Linked DNA regions of Homo sapiens: all the other regions are linked to region 1. The links are contacts of gene promoters, found by promoter capture Hi-C in human tissues and cell types (Jung and others, 2019). All regions are on one chromosome and are shown on one strand. The core of a region is centred on a gene start or on the middle of the fragment in contact, and the rest is flanking DNA. Distances in the headings are between cores, read along the strand shown.

What was found. Contacts are between HindIII fragments. The study calls those that stand out against the background at their distance.
Region 2: a contact is called between a fragment that was not itself captured here and the fragment with the promoter of MAP1B in region 1, in 1 of the 25 tissues and cell types used here (lymphoblastoid cells).
Region 3: a contact is called between a fragment that was not itself captured here and the fragment with the promoter of MAP1B in region 1, in 1 of the 25 tissues and cell types used here (mesenchymal stem cells).

What each region holds. Positions count from the first base shown.
Region 1 is chr5:72,105,483-72,109,629 of GRCh38, reverse strand. MAP1B (microtubule associated protein 1B) reads right to left here and starts at 2,155. Exons shown (of 7, transcript NM_005909.5): 1 at 1,915-2,155. The coding sequence starts at 2,098. It overlaps LOC105379028 (a long non-coding RNA gene), which reads left to right. Exons shown (of 3, transcript XR_007058813.1): 1 at 1-855; 2 at 1,643-1,705. RefSeq lists enhancers at 554-848, 1,254-2,236. The HindIII fragment of the contact is 7,344 bases long and covers 1-3,558 here.
Region 2 is chr5:71,893,114-71,897,260 of GRCh38, reverse strand. No RefSeq gene overlaps it. Among named protein-coding and RNA genes, the nearest start is that of CARTPT, 180 kb to the right of the region's middle. The HindIII fragment of the contact is 4,518 bases long and covers 110-4,147 here.
Region 3 is chr5:72,277,852-72,281,998 of GRCh38, reverse strand. All of the region lies in intron 4 of MRPS27 (mitochondrial ribosomal protein S27), which reads left to right. It overlaps LOC107986422 (a long non-coding RNA gene), which reads left to right. Exons shown (of 2, transcript XR_001742742.2): 2 at 1-1,149. Among named protein-coding and RNA genes, the nearest start is that of MRPS27, 40 kb to the left of the region's middle. The HindIII fragment of the contact is 3,602 bases long and covers 371-3,972 here.

The DNA.
Region 1 (4,147 bases), core at 906-3,405:
GGCCCCCAGCTCTAAAACGGGGTTGATGATCCCTCTCCTAGCACCACCACATCGAATGGTTATGAAGATTTTGTAGATAGAAAAGCACCTCCTAATATATTCCTATTTCCCAGAAATGCTACTTACAAATAATTTTTTAAAGAAAAAAATCCAAAGTCATTGATTCCCACAATAGCCACACCCAAAGTCAGTATGTGTAAAATTTTTCCAGGAGAAAATTGTGCAAATAAACTAAATTAGAACAGATTAGACCAAAGGCCTATATAGTCTGAAAATGAAGGGTTATTGAGATGCTCAAATAAGACATTTCACTACTGAAATATCTCTTGTTCTTGAATTTTTTGGAATAAAATACTATGACTTTCTGCTCACATTTTTTTTCTTTTTTTTTTTTAAGCTAAAAGGGAAAATCAAGTGCTTTAAAGTTAAACAAAAGAACCAGGTCTGCAACTCCAGTCCCCACCCTGCAGCCTTTTGTTCTGGGGACAAGTGGCCGTTTCCAACTGCAGAGGCAGATGACAAGCATTTATTTTTTCATCTAAAACAAGGTTTTTCTTTCGTCTTTTATTGGGGAGGGGGAGTGGGGAACGAGGGCTGCGTGAACGCCCTTTGTCCGCCTCGGGCTGCCGTAGAGACCGCAGTGCGGACTGCACCACGCCCACCAACCGGTGTCTCCCGGAGAAACGCTTCAGCACCACCCCAGGAGAATAGAGCGCGGGCTGGGGCTGCGGAGGGACCCGGCGACCTCTGTCAGGAGCGAGGGGAGGGCCGGGACGCCAGGGATAAAGGGAAAGGCAGAGACCAGAGCTGCCCACCCAGGGACTCCCAGGGCAACAAAGCCAGGCAAACTGAGAGGTGGGGGCGCGCGGCCCCCGCCAGCCCGAGGCCCGGGCGGAGCGCAAGCCCAGCCAGCCGTGCCCGACGGGGGCGCCGCAGTGTGGGGGGGCAGGTGTGGCGGGCGGTCCGGAGGCACTGCGGCAGCTCGGGTGGGGCTGGGGGCGGTCTCTCTGTGCGCCCGAGGCTGTGCCCGCCGGACCCTCACGGCCCCGCCCAGGGTCCCCGGCGTACCGCTATTCGGCCTCCGCAGAGCGCGCCACTGGTGCGAGCACCGGGCGAGGAGCTGACCCTACCCGCTGACGTCTCCCTCACCGACCCCCTTCAAGCTACCACTCCCGAGGCTGGGACTTCTAAAAGCAGCAGCCCCACCCCGCAACTTGGGGTCCCATTGTCCTTTCTGAGAGCTGCAGCCAAGGCCCCAAGGGCGGTAGCGAGGCGGGCTCTGTCTGGTGGCGAAGCGCAGGCGGTTCTGCATCCCAGCATCTCCCCGGGGAGGGGGGGGCGGGGGGAGCGGGCGTGGCCCTAGGACTAGCCTAGTCATTCTGAGGAAAGAAAGGATCGGGAGGTTTGAAATCAGAAAAGGCGTTTCTCAGGGGCTGAGGTAGCCGTGGTGAGGATGAATCCCACGCGGGCCCTGGCACATGGGCTTCGGCCCCAGGTCTGCGGTGGTGGGGGTCCCAGCCTTTTCCTGAGGCCAGAAGAGGACTGAAAGGAGTGGTTGCATCAGGTCTCCCCCACCCTTCTGCCTCCTGCGGTTGCGGCTTTATTGTGGCCTCTGCTCCCCTGACACCTGCATTTCACTTAGCGGGAGAGGCGGTGGCCAACTCAGCACAGGCTGCGGACTCAGCGTGGTGACAGATCCCTCAAGGTTATTGGAGACTCTCCCTCTGGGTCTCATATCTAATAATTCGGATTATTCTTAATTAGCCCAGAAAGGGTCTGGACCAAGTATGAGAGGTGACGAGGAGAGGCATGGGTGCGGGGCGCGCGGGAGGAGCGCAGTGACCGTCGCGCCCTGGGTGGGGTCGTGTTTGCGCGTCTCCCAGCGCGCGTCTCTGGGGGCGCGGGGCCACTTACCGAGCTCGATGTTGCCGATGGCACGCCGCAGGTGCTCCTCGGTCACGATCTCGCCGACGACCACCAGCAAGTAGAACTTGCTGTCAAGGAAGCGGTGCGACAGGCTAGGCGAGGTGGACGCCGCCGGGTTGGCGATGCTGCCGGACGGCTCCGGCTCGGTGGCTTCCACCACCACGGTCGCCATCCTGCCGGCTGCTGTGCCTCGGCGAAGTGTCTCGCTCCGGCCGCTCCTCTCCACTGCGGCAGGAGAAAGGATTATCTCCGAAGGTACTGTCTCCGCTCCGCCCCCTGCGTCCCCCCTCCTCTGGCGCCGCGCGCCGCCTCCCCCTCCGCCCTCTCCCAGCGCCGCGGAGAGTGCGCGGCGGAGAGGAGCGGGGAGTGAGAGAGGGCGGGGAGGCGGCGCCGCTTTTATATGGAGACTAGGCAGGGAGCCGGGAGGAGGAGGAAGAGGAGGAGGAAAGGACCACCCGGCACATCCTCACGCGGTGGCTGCCTCCGCTCTTCCAGCCGTTGGCCCGGGGCTGATGTCATCTGCAGCAAATCATCTCGCCCGCGGCCCGGAAGCTGGAGGGACGAGGTGTGCGGACAATGGTCGGGGCAGGGCCGCGAGCCAAGGGGCTGGGGCGCCCGCTGAGCTCCTGCTGCAGCCGTGAAGGGGGAAGACGCTCTCAACCTACACCACCCACCACGTACACACCCACTGCCCACTCCTCACCCTCACCCTGTCTGTGCATGGGAATGGGATGAGTTTCCATTTTCGGAGTGGGGGTCTTTTCTCTTGTTGGAGTTGCACTAGTCAGGCCTCTGCCTTGTGTGCTGTGTATGATGTAGCCAGGTTCTCAGGAACTGGGATAGCCACAGTGGGCAGATGCGGGGCTGTGGGTACCCCGCCTAGGAAGACGGAACCTGTCTTTTCTTTGACCTTGTGGCTTTAAGAAGACGAATTTACTGATATTTACCAATATCAATATTTACCACCTTCACTTAAAGAATACATCAAAAATGCAAAACTTAAGCCTACTATTGTTCAGGCCTTGGATTCTACTCTGGCAGGGCCAAGGATGAAAAAGTACTGGCTTTGTGGTGCTCATGGGAAATGAGAGAAATGCAGATGTATTATATTAGATACCAATTTCTTTCCTTAATGTGCTGAACAGATAGTATCAGTAATAACAAAGAATAAAGAGAAGATACTGTCTCTACTCAGCAGGGTTACAGTGACTATAATGTACTTTTCAGTTCCTTGGGGAACACACAAGCAAAATTACCTCGTGACAATGATGTCTTTTAAAATACCTGTAGCATTGGGAATTTTTATTGCCTTTGTTTGTGTTTAGAAGAACTAAAAAATGTGTTTTTTGTTTTTGTTTTTTTGTTTTTTTTTTTAAGGCAGCCTATTTACAACCGTTTCTCACAAACATACTGAATATAGCTTCTGTCCCAGAAAAGGGGAGGAGGGTGAGGAAAGAGCAAAATGTGCAAACATGGTATCATAGAAGACTGGGGAATTCGAGCTTTAAGGAAGAGGAATAGATGGAAATTAGTCAACATAGCTTTAATACTAGAATGCCTGTTAGTAAAATATAGATGATAGATAGATAGATAGATAGATAGATAGATAGATAGATAGATAATCACCTAGATATTCTTAAGATTTCCAAAATAACCCAGTGTCTTAGGTGTTAGCTGCCATGACTTATTGGTCATGTACTCTTTGCTCTTATATCTTTCCTGACACCCTGGCATGGGAGACATGCTGGGCAGCCAAGGGCTGGGGGGTTCCATCCAACATGTCAATCTGATCAATGCAGAATGAAAATACCGTCTGGCCCGCAGTATTTGGGATCTGTGACAGGATCACTAGAGAGTTGCATTCACCAGTAATTAGATGAAGTGTTTCCAACTAGCTGCATTCACCAGTAACTAGATGAAGTGTTTCCAGATAATATTTTGGTTAAGATATTCAATTGCTGTTCAAGAAGTAAGGCCAGCACCAAAGCCCATAACTGGGGTGAGGGGCAGGAAATATGGTGAAGAGCACTGTTTTCTAAAGGTCATCCGTTGGATTCCAGCCTCATCTAGTTTGTGTTTGGTTTTCCTTTCTTTGAACCATTGTTACTTTTATGTATGTAATAGTTTTCTTTTATGCAGTTTATTTCTTTTACTTAAATTTATTTTTAAATGCAATTCTATGTTGCTGTATAAATGGAAACACTAATATCACTTATTAATA
Region 2 (4,147 bases), core at 1,119-3,618, 210 kb after region 1:
TGAGTATCTGTTTCTGAGGCTGGAAGACAGAATCCTTGAGTTCATCATTTTCTTTCATCACTTTGTCCACTGAACTTCGGAGCAACCAACCAGCTTCATTATGTTCCTTGCTTCTCCACATATGGTCAAAGGTATTATGTAGAGAGTCATTAAACTCCCTGCCTCTCACAAGTGGTGAATCAGGAGTGTCAAATGCATTTATTTTGCCTAACTCTAAACAGTTCACACCAAGGACTATCAGTGTTCCCCATACTGTTAGAAGTAGAGTCCTTAGCATTTTGGGGTCAATCATATTAAGCAGTCAACTCCAGTAACCCTAAAACCAACAAAAGAACTCCATCCTTAATATTCTGTTCCTCTAGAACCACTCCTGGTACCAAAACCTGTATTAGGGTTCTAGAAGGACAGAACTAACGGAATATATATATATATATATATATATATATAAATGGGAGTTTGTTAATTATTAACTTACACGATCACAAGGTCCCACAATAGGCTGTCTGCAAGCTGAGGAGCAAGGAGAGCCAGTCTGAGTCCCAAAACTGAAGGACCTGGAGTCCGATGTTTGAGGGCAGGAAGCATCCAACATGGGAGAAAGATGTAAGCTGGGAGACTAAGCCAGTCCCTCCTTTCATGTTTTTCTGCCTGCTTTATATTTGCTGGTGCTAATTAGATTGTGCCCACTAGATTAAGGGTGGGTCTGCCTTCCCCAGCCCACTGACTCAAATGTTTATCTCCTTTGGCAACACCCTCACAGACACACCCAGGATTAATACTTTGTATCCTTCAATCCAATCAAGTTGACACTCAGTATTAACCATCACAGACATGTAGTACCATTTTGTTTAAGCCACAATTACTTGGGAGGGTTCATACTTACAATGGAATTTAATCTTAATTATAGGCACTCTCTGATTTTCATTAGCACCAAAGGCCAATTTTTATTGTATCTACATTCAAATCATGAATTTTTAATGCAACTGGAAAGATCATGTGCTTAACAAATGTTTGACAAACTAATTAAAAGACTAACTCTATAATTAAAGGCTCAGTTTTACTCATTTATTTAATGCCAAAAATATCAGAATTTTCACAAATGAAAACTGAAAAGCACGACTTATTTTTTTATAAGCAACTTGTTATCAGACTCTAGAATCTAGGCTCACCAACCATGTGACTTCATTTTCTGGAACTCACTTTGCTCATCTGCAACATGGGCACCTTATCTTAGAGGGCTAGAAGATGGAAAAGAACAGGGCAAAAGGAAAGCCAAGTGGGACAGCCTCTGGCCCTGGACCCCCTGCTGCCTCCCAAGAGCTCCACCTTTAGAATTTCACATAAGATTGTGTTTTATAAGAGAGTTTCACTAAGGAAATGAGGATCTTGAAATCCACTGGACCAGATAATCTGTAAGAGCCATTCCAGTTCTGCCATGTTATGATTAGAAACACTCCCACATGGCCAGAATAAGGCAGGTAGTAGCACTGCTGTGAGCTGAGCCAATTTGGGAGTGGCATTGTCCTAGATGTGTTGTTAAAGGCAAAGGCCAAGTTGTAAAGGCAGAATCGAGATGGGAAGACAGCAGATCCAGGAAGAAGGTGATAATGTAGGGCTGTTTCTTCCATTTGGTTTCATTATGCATGAAACACAAGGACAAGTACATGTTAAAGAATAGACATTTGTTTGATAGATGCATATTAAAGGTTATATATTGATAAACAGTTATAATATTACAATTAAACAGAAGAGATGTCACCCAGATATATCTCATCTCATTCATCCATGAAACATTTAACTAAAGAAAGGACTGGCAAGGCTGAGTGCCATCCCTACATGCAATGCTGATAGGGATGGGCCTGGCTGGAGATGTTCATGCCGCTAGAGCATGACCTGGAAAAAGCCCTGCCAGCTCCACCCCAGACATGAAACAGACACAGGTCCAGGAGCCAGGAGACCCTGTTTGAGTCTCAGCTCTTCCCCTTCATCAAGTCATTCTCCCTCTCTGAGTCTATTTCCTCTTCTGTAAATGAGTGGGTTGGTCTAGATGATCTTTAAAGTACCTTCAGTTCTAAAACTCCAGGGTTTCATGTGCAAGATGGTGGCAGGGTGGGGGTAGAGGTTGCAATGCTTCTTCCCCACTCGTGCTGTGTGTCTGGATAGAGGAAACCTCCTCAGTAGGGGAGATTCTAGATTCTCTTCACCTTGTACTTCCACTGCACGTGTGGAGATGGAAGCTTCTCTGCTTGGTAAATGTGGGGAGAATGGGTGGTCATGTTCAACTCCATCTTCTTGTTTGACACTGGGGCAAGCAGTCCGTCTCCATTTCTGCTCCAAGAGCAGCCCCCTCCCTAGAGCAGGACTGCCTCCAACCAACACTGGTGTTCCTCATTTGGGGGCTCAGAACTAGCAAGGCCTCTTGGCTAACGTGCTAAGGGTACATCCTTTCACCTGGCCTAGGTGTGACTTCATTTACTGAATGCATGATACAGCTGACCTGGCAGAGCTGACTTGAGGGGGGCATGAGCCTTCACCCCATGTGCCAGCATCAAAGGGGCTTCCTCTGTCCTGGCTACTCTTTCATAAAAACAACTTTATGGTTGTTTTCATAAAACACTACCACTATTATCCTCATTTTATAGGTGAAGAAACTGAGGCTCAGAGTTTAATCAACTGGCCCGAGGTCTCACTGCTAGCTGATAGAGTCTTTGTAAGAATTGTATGCACTGTCTCTGAATGTGTTTTTTGACGTTGCATCTCCCAGGCCTGGCTGTGTGACATGAAGGGGCACCATGGATGCAGCCTGTCTGGGGAGCAGCCCCCATTGGCAGCCTGATGGGTGAAGGGAGAAACCAGTCTTCAAAGTCACACCTCCAAGAATCCTGGATCTACTCCTCACCCAGCCCCTACTCAGTAGCAGCTGGCTGCACAGAGGCGACAGGTGGAGCTATCAGCTCCAGAGGAAACCACTTCTCTCCACCGATGTGGGGCAGTGAATGTGGAGGGTGGGGTGGGCAGCCTTGCCGTCTGGCTGAGTTTCTCTCAGGAAGTGCAGCTCACCTGGGGGTCCCTCCTGACTGTGGTCTCCAGCCCTCCCTGTCAGAAGAGAGAAACATCTACCTGGCAAAGCTGTCAGCTGCAGTTAGAATGAACCATCTTCAAACTCCAGCAGCCCCTAGCTTAAATGTTACTTCCTCAGGGAGATGTCTTCATCATCTGGATCAGCAGGTCTGAATTGTGGTGGCCCATTCCAATCCCAGAGGGCTTTAAAAAACAATGATGTCTGGGCTCCTTCCCTTCCCTGGTAAATCAGAATCTCTGGGATTGGCCAGGGTTAGAAACCACTGTTCCAGACAAAGCTCATTCCCTTACCCACCATCCATTCCCACTCCTGGGTTCACATCCCACTTGTCATTTTTACCTGGATGGCTGCGTTAGCTGCTGACCTGTAACCTCCATGAGAGTGGGGGTTGCAGCATGCCCTCCTCTCCAGCACTTGACATGGTTCTTCACACTCAGCAGCAATTCAAAGAACATTTGGCAAATAAGATCAAACAGTGATGACTTGGCATTCAGGACTTTTTCTCAAAAAAATTCAAAATACTTTTACATGGAAAATTGTTTGCATGTGTATTTCATAATCGAAAAACACATTCATAAGCAGCTTATGCAACTCTTACATAAACCTTGTGCGATAAATACTATCACCTAGCTTTGAGACCTTACTCAAGCTAATTAAACTCAACCTCAGTTTCCTCATCTTTAAAATAGGAATAATAGTACCTCCCTCTTAAGGTTATTAAGAAGAATAATTGAAATAACCCTAACACTTAGCACATTGCCTGGCCCACAGTGAGGGTTCAAGAATATTAGCTATTATTGTTGATAATTCACCTCATGTTACAGAAGGTAAACTGAGACTCAAATAGGCAAAGTGCCTTGCCCAAGATCCCACAGGGTTAGGACCCAAACCAATGTCTTCTGACTCCCAATTGTGTATTCTTTCACATTCCAGTTGAGAATGTTTTTGTAAGCTAGGATCTACAATATCAGCCTAGTTTTCCAGATGGGAAAATTCACCACTGAGAGAGGTGAATCAGCACAGTGCATTGGATTAGGCATGAATGGATGTTCCTCTGCTCTGGCA
Region 3 (4,147 bases), core at 922-3,421, 170 kb before region 1:
GTAATAGGCAAAGCTGGGACTTAAAACTAGGTCTTCCAACACCAGATCATTACAGCACATGAACAGTGTATTCATTATGCACTGGCTGTTACATAGTTCAGTGATGGACACTACCAAGAGGTGAAACTCAATCATTAGTCTTCATTGGTAAAAATCTTGGCAGAGTTTTGATAAGTCAAACACTGAAATTATGTGTTCAAGTGAGAACTTTGTGCATCTCATACGTATAGATTAGTATAGTCCTCCATTTGCTGAATAATAGCAGGTAATAACAGACTTACACACTTACACAGTGCTTTCAGACTCCAGTTGGAATGGACTACTGTTCTCTGAATGTGCCTTCTACTTTCATATCTTGCCTATGCTCTTCCCTCCCCACTGTCTCTTTCTAACAGAATACAGCCTGTGTTTTAAGGCCTGTCCCAAATTCTGCTACACTCATAAACTTACCCTGATTTTCACGGTTGAATGTGATCTCTCTGACCCATCTATAAAATTTTGTTTTACCTATTCAGGGGTGCTTACTTATTTTGTTTTGTCTTCTGTCAAAAATATTTCTTTCTTTCTCTTTACCTGAGACACAGTATAGTATAGTAGACAAGAGTATGGACTTGAGCCAGAGTGCCTGGATTTGAATGTCGAATGTGCCATCCATTTCCTCCCTCATAAAATGAGTGTTAAAATAGTGCCTGTGCTTTAGGGTATTTATGAGACTCCAAGAAATTGATAACGTTATAATGCCCTTAGAACAGTCTTGGGACAAAGAAGGTCAGTGCTCAATAAAATTTAGCTTTAATGTTGACTATACTAGATTGTAACATCGGGAGAAGCAAGGAGTATTTATTTCCCATACTTCTCTCTTATGGGAAAATGTATTTGATTTCTGGTTTAGGTTTCCCTAACCATCCGCACCACCCCTGCCCCAAGGGCATCAAGGTGTAAGGGCCATCAAGGCTCAGGAATGTGGAGAAGTAGATGCTTAGGAACACTAGTAGTTCAACACACATTTAGAAAGGATATCACATTTTGGGGGAAGCTTCCTGACCCTAAAAGACAGCAAATCAAATCTGTCATACGTGTACCCGTATTGCTAAGCTTACAGCCACAAACCAGAAGGGGGCAACAGATCTGCTTACTATCTGTGAAGAAGGGAGAAGAAGCCTCAAGAAAATGATTCCCAGTTAGGAAAAAACTGCACCATAACTGATCTCTGATAAGATGTTATTGAATCAATAATCAAAATACAGATTAGACACAAAAAGAGAGGTCTGTTCTGTGGGCTGGGAGCATGTAAGCAATTGAAATAGAAATTGTGGAACTGCTTCCAGAGATTTTAGTTTTGATATCTGGCATGCACAAGAGCAGCTCAGAATGGCTAAAGTTGTTTAATGTTGTCAGCATTCCCCACTTTTATTTTATTGGTTTTTTTAGAAGCTGTGCAAGAGTTTCTATTTGTAGAGCTGATTCTTATATAGAAAACTGGGCTGCTGTGCAGCCTTGCAGGTTAGAATGAAATATACATTTTTTTCATATTTTTAAAATCATTTCTTGTTTATGGAAAAAGTAATTACATATTCTTTTTTTAAAAAAAATACTTATAAAGGAAAAATCACTTGTTTTTAGTGTGTTTCTTGCCAGTCTTTTAAGTATATCTTTCCATTTTATTTGTTTTAAACTATTAAACAGTAAGTGTCACATTTCATCTATAAATTCAGTGCAATTCCAACCAAAATCTCAGCAGAAATTTTTGGGGAACCTGAGAAGATGACCCTGAAATTCAAGTGAAAGAATAAAACCAAGAATAGCTAAGACAGTTTTAAGAAGACTAACATAAAATGATTGGTCCACAAGATAGACAACAAGACTTATTAGAAAGCTACAAAAAATACAAATGAAGATAATGGCTTAGATGTAGACAAATAGACTAGTGGAGCAGAATAGAGAGAACCCAGAAATGTATCTACATATCTGGAAACCTGAGATATTTTTTACATCAAAGGGCGAAGAATGGATTAGTTAATAAATGCTACTTAGACAATCGATAATCTAACAATTATATGGGAAAATTCTTCATTCTTACTTCAAAATATATGAACATACTCACACACATTTTTTTTAGGTAGATTAAAAACCGAAATGGAAAAAGCAAAACTTTTAGAAGGAAATATAGGAGAATATTAATAGTAGTATAACACTGGGGACACTGAAGGATTTGTTTTTTTTTGAACAAGACACAAAAAACATAACAAAAGATTGATAAATTTTTTTGTTTTGTTTTATTACTAAGTGATAATTGTTTTTGGGGTTTTGTTTTTGTTTTATTTTGTTTTGTTTTGTTTTGTTGTCTTCCATGATTCAGAATGGTTTTTGTTGTTGTTGTTATTTAATGCTTGTTGTGTGTTTTTTAAGAGACAGGGTCTCGCTGTGTTGCTCAGGCTGGTCTCAAACTCCTGTCCTCAAGCAATCCTCCCATCTTCGCCTCCTAAATGGCTAGGATTATAGGCGTGAGCCACTGCACCTGCTCTGATAAGGTTTAATGCATTAAAATTTTAAAGTTCTATTCTACAAAAATTTTGTTACCACCAGTAACAAAATTAAAAGACCAGGGAAGATTTGCAATGCATGTAGCTAACAAAGATTAGTATCTAGATTATATCCATAGGCCAATAAGATAAGAATTTTAGAAAAGTGGATAGAGAATATGAACCAGCAGTTCACAGAATAAAAAACCATATTGGCAGTTAACATATTTAACATATGAATAGATGCTCACTCTCAATAATCAGATAAATTACAGATTAAAATGATACATTTTCACATTTATTAGATGCAAAAATAAGACTTCCATAATAATTGTGACAAAGAGGAGCAACAGGAAGTCTGATTCACTACTAGTGGGAGTTTAAAATTATATAGTCACCTTGAAGAGTAGTTTGGCAATATGAAGTAAAAGAGGATGGGCATGGTCATCTTCTACTCAGCCTTCTGCTCTGGGGTATATACCTTAAAGGAACTCTGGCTTGTATAAGGATTAAGTTATAAGACTGTTCATTTTAACATTGTTCATAATATGAAAAACTGGAAGCAACTTAAATATCCTCCAATAGAAAAAGAAGAAAAATGTGATAGACTTTTTTTTACAATGGAATACCATACAACAGTGAGAAAGAATAAGCCAAAGCTATCTATAGATGCATACATATCTATACACACATACACATATATATCAGGGTGATTATCTCAAAACATAATGAGTAAAAAAAAGGTGAAATATCGTACATATAATATGATACCATTTATGTAGTTTGAAAATATGCAAAGCAATATCATCACTTACATGGATACATGTTATAAAGTGAAGGGTATAAAAAACATGCCCAAAAATGGTAAACAACAAATTCAAGGTATTATCTACCTATGAAGAAGCAGGATGGGGTTGGAGTAGGATCCGGAAATATACATGAGGGAGCATCAACTGTATCTATAATGCTTTATTGGCTTAAAAAGAAAATCTCAAGTATGACAGACTTTAAATTTTTTTTTTTTTTTTTTTTTTGAGATGGAGAGTCGCTCTGTCACCCAGGCTGGAGTGCAGTGGCGCGATCTCGGCTCACTGCAATCTCCGCCTCCTGGGTTCACACCATTCTCCTGCCTCAGCCTCCCAAGTAGCTGGGACTAGAGGCGCTCGCCACCATGCCCAGCTAATTTTTTTGTATCTTTAGTAGAGACAGGGTTTCACCATGTTAGCCAGGATGGTCTCAATCTCCTGACCTCGTGATCCGCCCGCCTCGGCCTCCCAAAGTGCTGGGATTACAGGCATGAGCCACTGCGCCTGGCCAGATTTTAAAATTTGATGAAGATAGGTGGTTGAGTATGTGGGTGTTATGTTCTGCTTATTTTTGTTTTTGTTTTTTAATTTAAGTTTCAGGATACATGTGCAGATTTGTTACATAAATAAACATGTGCCCAGTGGTTTGCTGCAGCTATCAACCTGTCACCTAAGTATTAAGCCCAGCACGCATTAGCTATTTTTTCTGATACTCTCCCTCCTCCACCCCCTCATCTCACAGGCTCCAGTATGTGTTATTCCCCTCCCTGTGTCCAAGTGTTCTCATTGTTCAGCTCCCACTTATGAGAGCATGCGGTG